2 separate regions of the Homo sapiens genome follow, and region 1 is linked to region 2. Evidence: promoter capture Hi-C in 16 types of primary human blood cells and fetal thymus (Javierre and others, 2016). All regions are on one chromosome and are shown on one strand. Each heading gives the region's core, a stretch centred on a gene start or on the middle of the fragment in contact. The rest is flanking DNA. Distances are from core to core; before and after follow the strand shown.

Region 1 (3,940 bases), core at 175-2,674, 200 kb after region 2:
AGTGAGACTCTCTGTCTCCTTCAGGGAGCATAGCAGTGGCTCAAGCACATCCAAAGCCTTCTTGGCCTGGCTGGCTAAGAGATAGGCCCATGCCAGGCAGAGAGAAGACTCAAAGGATTCCTGCTCACCCAGCAGCTGCCCTAGCACCAAGGCCTGGCTCAGGTAGTGGATGGCACCGTCAGGAGACCTGTGCTCGAGGTACACTTTGGAAAGGATGAGACACAGGGCCCTCTGGGTGCTCCGGTCTGCTAGTTCCTCACAGGCAGCCAGGGCCTGTCTGAGCATTGGGCAGGCCAAGGCAGAAACTTCACCCCAGCCTGGGGAAGGAAAGCCAAGGAGCTTGGTTGTGTTCTGGAGGACAAGGTGGACCTGCCAAATAGGAAGAGACATCCCTTGGGCACTCTGGATACCATGTTGCTGGACAGAGGCCACTGCAAGGTGTGGAAGATATTTCTTGTCATACAGAAAACTCAAAACACTGGCCACAGCCTCAGAGGCAGGAGGGTGTCCAGAGAGGAGCTGCAGGCGCTCGGCAAAGGGCAGGACCTCCTCGTGCCGGCCTAGGCTCAGGAGCAAGCGGATGGCCAGAAAGCAGGCCCTGGCCTCCAGCGGGCTGCTGCCCACCACAATCCCCTGGCGCAGCACGTAGGCCACCACGTCGAGTTCATGCTTGGCACTAGACTCACGGTCAGGCAGGCAGGCCAGCAGGGCACCTGCCTTTTCCAACAGGGCGGAGCCTTTATGTCTCAGCCTCTGTTTCAGGTAGATGGCAGCCAAATTGATGTACAGAGTGGCCACCAAGGATAGGTCCTCAAATGCTCCATTGAGAATGTGGATGGCCTCCTCGAAGTACACCCTGGCCTGAGAGAGTTTGACCTTCCTGATGCTCAGCCGGCCCAGGAGGAAGCAGAGACGGGCATGGGCCCAGGTCATGTGGCTCTTCTTGGCCCACTTTCTTGATGCCTCCAGGTAGGCCACAAACTCATCCTCCTCAGAGAAGCTATAAAAGGAAGAAGTGAGGAAAGAGAAGGAGAAGTCATAGAGACTCTTAAAGTGGTCAGCATAACCCTCATGATCCAGAAAAGCCAATATGGGGGCGAAGTTCTCAGCCTCCTCCTCCTGACCAGTGCTTAGGTCCATGAGCAGTTCCGGGTCATCAAGGTCATCAGGCTCCGGCAGGCGATAGCTGTCTGAGGTGGCCGAGAGGAGCTCCTCCTCCAGGCTGGAGTCCTCAGAGCTGCTGGACTGTCTGGACCCCACGGCCTGATGCTCCTCCCAGGCTCTGCCAGGCCTGACCTCCTTGAAACCTTCAGGCTGGGATGCTGTAAGGACAGGCAAAGTTGAGCAACCTTGGGCACCTGCACCTAAGGTGGCCGCTCTTGGCAAGAGGACAGAAGTGCTGTCCTCAAGGATGAATGTCAGGTTCAGCATGATCGCTACTCACCACTCAGATCATTTGGAGGATTCTGGATGGATTCAAACCCACCTAAGTAGAGATGAAGAACAGGTCTGGTGTTAGGTCAGGATGGGCCACCATGCCCATGCCTCCAGGTGTACCCCAGATCAGTGGCCTCTTAGGAGCCTTGGCATTCAAGACCTTCAGTCATCATTAAGGAACAGGGCAGAATTATCCTTTCACCCATCATCTTAAGAGCTGTAGGGGCCTAATCATCTTGTTTAACCCATGCACTTTACAGTTGGGAACCAAGGTATACGTGAAACTCAGAGTCCGAGAAGAAAACCTGGAAACACAGGCTCTATGTCAAGAGGTATGGGTACTGTAGGGGGGTGGGGGGTGGGGACAGTGGGGGTCCTGATAGAATCTGAAGATCAGAGAGATGCAGCTCCCAAATCTCTCAGCGAGTTCACGATGGAGCCAGGACACAACTCCCAGCACAGAACACGTGGGAGCACATGGTGCTGCCTCCCACTTCTAAATGTATCACATCCTTCCTTCTTGCCTCCTCCATTCATTCATGATTCATCCACTTGGCAGACATTGGTTCCATGTGTCCACTGGGCTGGACACTGTGTTTGTAAAAGTGGCAGGGGCGAGGGGCCAGAAGTGAAGGGCGAATAAAAAGGAGCAAGGATGCATCTGAGACTGAAGTAGAGGATGGGAGAATCTGGAGTGCAGTTTTAGACCTTTGGGGTTTGAGGTAGCTGCAGGAGCTCTAGGCAGATAATGATGTAGGTCTGGAGCCAAGGAGAAAAACTGAGACTTTGCAAACACAGGTTTGTGACCCAAAGCAGGTCACAAATTGCTGGCCAGAGTCCCAGGACTAAATGTAATCACACAGGTGAGGCATCTGGGGGAAAAGAAAAGCAGCAGGGGAGTGAGGGAGTGAGGGAGTAGGGGGAGTTTGTTAATAAGCCTGGGCAACTCACTGGCAGCCAGTAGCCAGTGAGGGAGACTGAAAAGGCACAGTCAGAGAGAAAAGGGGGTTACAGAGGCCAAGGTGACTTAAAACATAACCACCTATTGCCACCAAGTGCAACCGGACTAGGTAAGAACCAAGAAGACACCTTGGGTTTGGCAGTGAAGAAGTGACCACTGTTGGCTAAAGCAACCACAGTGGAACTGTGGAGGTGAAGGCTAGCTTCACACTCCACAGGATGGTAGCTGCTAGAGGGAAGATTCTACCTCTTCTTAGCAGAGAAGTAACAACTGTCTGTGCCACCACCCTGAGTTCTCTAGTGAACTTTGAGGACCAGCAAGCCCCTCACCAAGTCAAACCTTTTCCTGCTGTTCTCCAGGATGGCATCTCCAGAGATTGTCATTGCAGAACCTCCAGATCTGTAACCCCCAGAGGGTAGAAAGCCCCGCAGCTAAAGATGAAGAGCTATAGAGCTTGGCTAAGGAGAGCTGTTCAAATGCCCTGGCCTCTCTGATGTGGAGGGGTACACGCCCCTCTTGGGCCACCTCTTCTCTTCTGGCCAAGAGTATGAGTGATGCGCAAGTTACAAAATGGTGTCCCCTCTCTAGGAGGAAGAATTACAAAGGGCCATCCTTCCCTATGGTATACGCCTTGGGGAAGCTGCAATTTACCAACAAGATGTTCTCCTGCTGCTTGTCTTGGTGCTGGGGCAGCCTGCACAACCATAAGGTGCGGACTGCACGCCGCAGAGCTGCACTCCTGATCTTTGAGTGAGAGTCAAGTGCTGTCTGGGGCCTCCTCTTACATCCTCCCCACCACTGGACCAACAGCTGGCAGAAATCATGATCCAAGTCTGTGCCCAGGCCTTCTCCCCAAGGAACACTGCTAGTACACCTCAATTTTCAGACATCAGGCTCCCGCCTACTGGGCAGTGTTTACAACTCTAGCTTCCTGCTCAACCTCATAAGGCAATATGATCTGCTTGTGGCTTGTGGCAAGAAAGCTCTGCTAGGGCAGGGTGCTTATGCCTGAGGCATGTGCTTTCACAAACACTCTTTATGCACGGACATAGCTCTCAACTCCCTGCTCTACTCCTGGGAGATGGCCTGAGGGCCCCTTCAGCAGAATCTCTAGCTGTATCCATAAAATATGGATCATCTAATCTGGCTACACAAGAGCGGACACAATGTCACCATCAATGAAGAGATGGGAGAAACAAAAATTCTTCCTCAAGTCACCATCAATGAGAAAATGTACTCCCTGACACACAACAGTAGGCCTTTCTCAAAGTAAGAGTATCATTCATTCAGTCAGTCAGTCCTTCAGACACTGCTCAAAACCAGTCAGTTTGTCAGAGGAATCTTTCACAATTGTTGAGATCTGATCCCATGACACAGAAAACATCCAAGACTAACACACCCAACAACTCAAAGTCATTTTGTGTCAGGGGCAGTGTGGTAAAGTGGATTGCTCTGACTAGCAGTTCTTATCCTAGCTCAGGCACTAATTCGTTTAGGCCTGTTTCCCAATCTGTAATGTGAGACAAGAAATCATCTCTTAAG
Region 2 (6,265 bases), core at 2,170-4,669:
AGTCCTGACCTCAGGTGATCCACCCACCTCAGCCTCCCAAAGTGCTAGGATTACAGGCATGAGCCACTGCGCCCGGTCTGTTTCCTGATGTGTTAATGATCGCCATTGTATCTGGTGTGAGATGGTATTTCATTGTGGTTTTGATTTGCATTTCACTAATAACCAGTGCTGATGATCTTTTCTTCATATGTTTGTTGGCTGCATTAATGTCTTCTTTTGAGAAGTGTCTGTTCATATCCTTTGCCCACTTTTTCATGGGGCTGTTTGTTTTTTCTTGTAAATTTGTTTAAGTTCTTTGTAGATTCTGGATATTAGCCCTTTGTCAGATGGATAGATTGCAAAATTTTTCCCCCTTTCTGTAGGTTGCCTGTTCACCCTGATGATAGTTTATTTTGCTGTGCAGAAACTCTTTAGTTTAATTAGATCCCATTTGTCAATTTTGGCTTTTGTTGCCATTGCTTTTGATGTTTTAGTCATGAAGTCTTTGCCCATGCCTATGTCCTGGATGTTATTGCCTAGATTTTCTTCTAGGGTTTTTATGGTTTTAGGTCTTACGTTTAAGTCTTTAATTCATCTTGAGTTAATTCTTGTATAAGGTGTAAGGAAGGGGTCCAGTTTCAGTTTTCTGCATATGGCTAGCCAGTCCTTCTTGATTTAGTATTTGTGGGTTTTAAAAAAGGAGTTTCCCAAAATATTCAGTTAAACTTTTAAGTGACTTACGTGTATATCTAAATACATGATCAGTTAATATTTGTCTTAAAGGGGTTTTCTTTGTTCTTTTCTTATTATAGGAAGGTTAAACAATATGCTTATTTATGCCATAGCTTCACAAACAGGAAGGAGGTTTTAAATGGTTTAGTTCCACAATTTGAGTAGATGCATATTTAAAGAAACGTTGTTGCATAATAAATACTGCCTCTTCCTAAAATGCATCATGCCACAGCCAATTTTGGAAAACACAAATATGAGGTGAGTGTATTTTGAAAACTATGTGAATATAATAGATCTTTAATTCATATTTGTGGATTTTATGGGAAATACTTGTTTTCTAAGGCATCTGTCTTGCAAAAAGTCAGTTTCTGCTATGAAGGATGTTAAAGGGGATATGTAGGTTAAATTCTGTTTCTGAGCTTTGCTTCCAGAGTAAACACCCAACTTACTTTTGCCCTAAAGTATTTTATTGTTCTAGTAGAGAAGACTAACAACATATTCTAAACCACTAAGTAATTTATGTAAACTTCGCTTACAAACTACACTTGTGTGACACTTATATGAGCAAAAGCATTTTCATATTTCTTACTATATCATTCAATTCTTGCTTACCCCAATGGAAGTGACTTTATGCCCCTTTAGAGACAATGGAAATCAGGTACTTCGTGATTTCTCTTAAAAAAAAAAAAAATGAACTAGAAAGCTCCAAGTTTGGTGAATCTGGAACCTGGGTATTCCAGTTCCAGTTGTAGCCCTTCCTCCCTATCCATCACTCCTGTCTGCATGTAATTATGCAATACATTGAAAAGATTAAAAGATGGGTCTTGGACTCAGGCAGACCTGGGTCAAATCCAGATTCTGGCACTGCCCAGCCATTGCCCCTGGGCAAGCCATTTTCCTCTTTGAACCTCATTTGTGAATTAAGCTAAAAATAGTCCCCACCCCCATGGGACTGTGGGAAGGATTAAATAGAATAATGCATGAAAAGCAAATAGCAGAATGGTCCATAAATGTTAACCATTGTTATGTTATTATGTAATCTACAAAGTACGTTTAGTTACACTTCATGAAATACTTTCAGTTTTTCAAAGACACCACTAATACATGGGAAATCAAACCCTGAAAATTAATTTCACTTTAGCAGTAAAGTCACATGCCAGATGGAAAGGATAGTATTTCATGAACAAAGATCTTACTTTTGAGATTTGGTCTTACTTTTTTCTTTTTCTTAAGGGAGAATTATCTTGTGTTTTTTGTTTTGTTTTGTTTTGAGATGGAGTCTTGTTCTGTCACCCAGGCTGGAGCGCAGTGACGTGATCTCGGCTCACTGCAACCTTCACCTCCCGGGTTCAAGAGATTCTCCTGTCTCAGCCTCCCGAGTAGCTGGGACTACAGGTACGTGCCACCACACCTGGCTAATTTTTGTATTTTTAGTAGAGACAAGAGTTACACCATATTGGCCAGGATCTTTTGCTTTCTATAGCTTCAAAATGTTCTTAATGTTAAGACATTCTTAATACTCTGAACCATATGAATTTGCCATTTTGGTAAGTCACAGACGCCAGATGGTGGCAATTTCACATGGCACAACCCGAAAGATTAACAAACTATCCAGCAGATGAAAGGATTTTTTTTAGTTTCATTGGGTTTACTGAAGAAATTGTTTGAATTCTCATTGCATCTCCAGTTCAACAGATAATGAGTGAGTGATGCCACACTCTCAAGAGTTAAAAACAAAACAACAAAAAAATTAAAACAAAAGCACACAACTTTCTCTCTCTGTCCCAAAATACATACTTGCATACCCCCGCTCCAGATAAAATCCAAAGGGTAAAACTGTCTTCATGCCTGCAAATTCCTAAGGAGGGCACCTAAAGTACTTGACAGCGAGTGTGCTGAGGAAATCAGCAGCTGTTGAAGTCACCTCCTGTGCTCTTGCCAAATGTTTGAAAGGGAATACACTGGGTTACCGGGTGTATGTTGGGAGGGGAGCATTATCAGTGCTCGGGTGAGGCAAGTTCGGAGTACCCAGATGGAGACATCCGTGTCTGTGTCGCTCTGGATGCCTCCAAGCCAGCGTGTGTTTACTTTCTGTGTGTGTCACCATGTCTTTGTGCTTCTGGGTGCTTCTGTGTTTGTTTCTGGCCGCGTTTCTGTGTTGGACAGGGGTGACTTTGTGCCGGATGGCTTCTGTGTGAGAGCGCGCGCGAGTGTGCATGTCGGTGAGCTGGGAGGGTGTGTCTCAGTGTCTATGGCTGTGGTTCGGTATAAGTCTGAGCATGTCTGCCAGGGTGTATTTGTGCCTGTATGTGCGTGCCTCGGTGGGCACTCTCGTTTCCTTCCGAATGTGGGGCAGTGCCGGTGTGCTGCCCTCTGCCTTGAGACCTCAAGCCGCGCAGGCGCCCAGGGCAGGCAGGTAGCGGCCACAGAAGAGCCAAAAGCTCCCGGGTTGGCTGGTAAGGACACCACCTCCAGCTTTAGCCCTCTGGGGCCAGCCAGGGTAGCCGGGAAGCAGTGGTGGCCCGCCCTCCAGGGAGCAGTTGGGCCCCGCCCGGGCCAGCCCCAGGAGAAGGAGGGCGAGGGGAGGGGAGGGAAAGGGGAGGAGTGCCTCGCCCCTTCGCGGCTGCCGGCGTGCCATTGGCCGAAAGTTCCCGTACGTCACGGCGAGGGCAGTTCCCCTAAAGTCCTGTGCACATAACGGGCAGAACGCACTGCGAAGCGGCTTCTTCAGAGCACGGGCTGGAACTGGCAGGCACCGCGAGCCCCTAGCACCCGACAAGCTGAGTGTGCAGGACGAGTCCCCACCACACCCACACCACAGCCGCTGAATGAGGCTTCCAGGCGTCCGCTCGCGGCCCGCAGAGCCCCGCCGTGGGTCCGCCCGCTGAGGCGCCCCCAGCCAGTGCGCTCACCTGCCAGACTGCGCGCCATGGGGCAACCCGGGAACGGCAGCGCCTTCTTGCTGGCACCCAATGGAAGCCATGCGCCGGACCACGACGTCACGCAGGAAAGGGACGAGGTGTGGGTGGTGGGCATGGGCATCGTCATGTCTCTCATCGTCCTGGCCATCGTGTTTGGCAATGTGCTGGTCATCACAGCCATTGCCAAGTTCGAGCGTCTGCAGACGGTCACCAACTACTTCATCACTTCACTGGCCTGTGCTGATCTGGTCATGGGCCTGGCAGTGGTGCCCTTTGGGGCCGCCCATATTCTTATGAAAATGTGGACTTTTGGCAACTTCTGGTGCGAGTTTTGGACTTCCATTGATGTGCTGTGCGTCACGGCCAGCATTGAGACCCTGTGCGTGATCGCAGTGGATCGCTACTTTGCCATTACTTCACCTTTCAAGTACCAGAGCCTGCTGACCAAGAATAAGGCCCGGGTGATCATTCTGATGGTGTGGATTGTGTCAGGCCTTACCTCCTTCTTGCCCATTCAGATGCACTGGTACCGGGCCACCCACCAGGAAGCCATCAACTGCTATGCCAATGAGACCTGCTGTGACTTCTTCACGAACCAAGCCTATGCCATTGCCTCTTCCATCGTGTCCTTCTACGTTCCCCTGGTGATCATGGTCTTCGTCTACTCCAGGGTCTTTCAGGAGGCCAAAAGGCAGCTCCAGAAGATTGACAAATCTGAGGGCCGCTTCCATGTCCAGAACCTTAGCCAGGTGGAGCAGGATGGGCGGACGGGGCATGGACTCCGCAGATCTTCCAAGTTCTGCTTGAAGGAGCACAAAGCCCTCAAGACGTTAGGCATCATCATGGGCACTTTCACCCTCTGCTGGCTGCCCTTCTTCATCGTTAACATTGTGCATGTGATCCAGGATAACCTCATCCGTAAGGAAGTTTACATCCTCCTAAATTGGATAGGCTATGTCAATTCTGGTTTCAATCCCCTTATCTACTGCCGGAGCCCAGATTTCAGGATTGCCTTCCAGGAGCTTCTGTGCCTGCGCAGGTCTTCTTTGAAGGCCTATGGGAATGGCTACTCCAGCAACGGCAACACAGGGGAGCAGAGTGGATATCACGTGGAACAGGAGAAAGAAAATAAACTGCTGTGTGAAGACCTCCCAGGCACGGAAGACTTTGTGGGCCATCAAGGTACTGTGCCTAGCGATAACATTGATTCACAAGGGAGGAATTGTAGTACAAATGACTCACTGCTGTAAAGCAGTTTTTCTACTTTTAAAGACCCCCCCCCCCAACAGAACACTAAACAGACTATTTAACTTGAGGGTAATAAACTTAGAATAAAATTGTAAAATTGTATAGAGATATGCAGAAGGAAGGGCATCCTTCTGCCTTTTTTATTTTTTTAAGCTGTAAAAAGAGAGAAAACTTATTTGAGTGATTATTTGTTATTTGTACAGTTCAGTTCCTCTTTGCATGGAATTTGTAAGTTTATGTCTAAAGAGCTTTAGTCCTAGAGGACCTGAGTCTGCTATATTTTCATGACTTTTCCATGTATCTACCTCACTATTCAAGTATTAGGGGTAATATATTGCTGCTGGTAATTTGTATCTGAAGGAGATTTTCCTTCCTACACCCTTGGACTTGAGGATTTTGAGTATCTCGGACCTTTCAGCTGTGAACATGGACTCTTCCCCCACTCCTCTTATTTGCTCACACGGGGTATTTTAGGCAGGGATTTGAGGAGCAGCTTCAGTTGTTTTCCCGAGCAAAGTCTAAAGTTTACAGTAAATAAATTGTTTGACCATGCCTTCATTGCACCTGTTTCTCCAAAACCCCTTGACTGGAGTGCTGTTGCCTCCCCCACTGGAAACCGCAGGTAACTACTTGTAATTACTGCCCATGACTTAATGTAGAATGATACAAGAATGACATGCACAGATTGCTTAACCCTTTCATTTGCCTTTGAGTCTGCTGCTGCAAAGCTGCATCTCTCCTGACACTTGTGCCCCAAATCAGTTCTGCCTGCTCTTAGTATAGCTCAACTCTCCCTATGGTTATTGTTCTGTGTTGTTACCTCAGAAACACTGACTCACAGAAGCGGAGTTAAGGGGATATGTTTTTTTCTCTCCACGTGCACCCACCACCCACCTTCCAGTTCTACTTGTTTCAAAACTGTTTATATTTCTGTCTTGGCCATGTGTTACAGTGGAGCTCTTTGTACTGCATCAGGGCTTGGCATTTTAGGGATAAGGAAGATGTTCTTATGAGGAAGCTACTCAGACATGGCCCCGTAATTCTGAGGGAAAATTCAAAAGGCATTGGTCATGGGGAGAAAAGCTGGAGAACACATAACTGATGGATACCTCATGAACTAGAAACAGAATTTTAACCCCTTTTCCTTCTTTCCTTTGGTCCCTGTTTTCTTCTCCCACTGACTCTCCTCGATTCAGTGTAAACCAAGGTTCTGAGTCTTAGCACTGTTAGCATTTTGGACCAGATAACTCTTTGTTATGGGGGCTGCATCATTGTATGTGTAGCACCTCTGGCCTCTGTTCATTAGATGCCAATAGCACCCCCTGCTTATAACAAGCAAAAATGTTTCCAGACATTGCAAAAGAGCCCCTGAGGTGCGAATTAGC

Evidence for each region. Contacts are between HindIII fragments. The CHiCAGO score rates a contact against its expected background, and 5 or more counts as called.
Region 1: a contact is called between a fragment that was not itself captured here and the fragment with the promoter of ADRB2 in region 2, in 4 of 17 cell types (endothelial precursors, megakaryocytes, naive CD8 T cells and 1 more). The highest score is 7.7, in endothelial precursors.

The regions. Positions count from the first base shown.
Region 1 is chr5:149,027,233-149,031,172 of GRCh38, forward strand. SH3TC2 (SH3 domain and tetratricopeptide repeats 2) reads right to left here. Exons shown (of 17, transcript NM_024577.4): 10 at 1,445-1,486; 11 at 1-1,322. Among named protein-coding and RNA genes, the nearest start is that of MIR584, 33 kb to the right of the region's middle. RefSeq lists an enhancer at 3,889-3,940. The HindIII fragment of the contact is 8,506 bases long and covers 1-3,940 here.
Region 2 is chr5:148,823,192-148,829,456 of GRCh38, forward strand. ADRB2 (adrenoceptor beta 2) reads left to right here and starts at 3,420. Exons shown (of 1, transcript NM_000024.6): 1 at 3,420-5,432. The coding sequence starts at 3,641. The coding sequence ends at 4,882. RefSeq lists enhancers at 2,719-2,878, 3,735-4,320 and silencers at 3,149-3,458, 3,549-3,688. The HindIII fragment of the contact is 9,818 bases long and covers 1-6,265 here.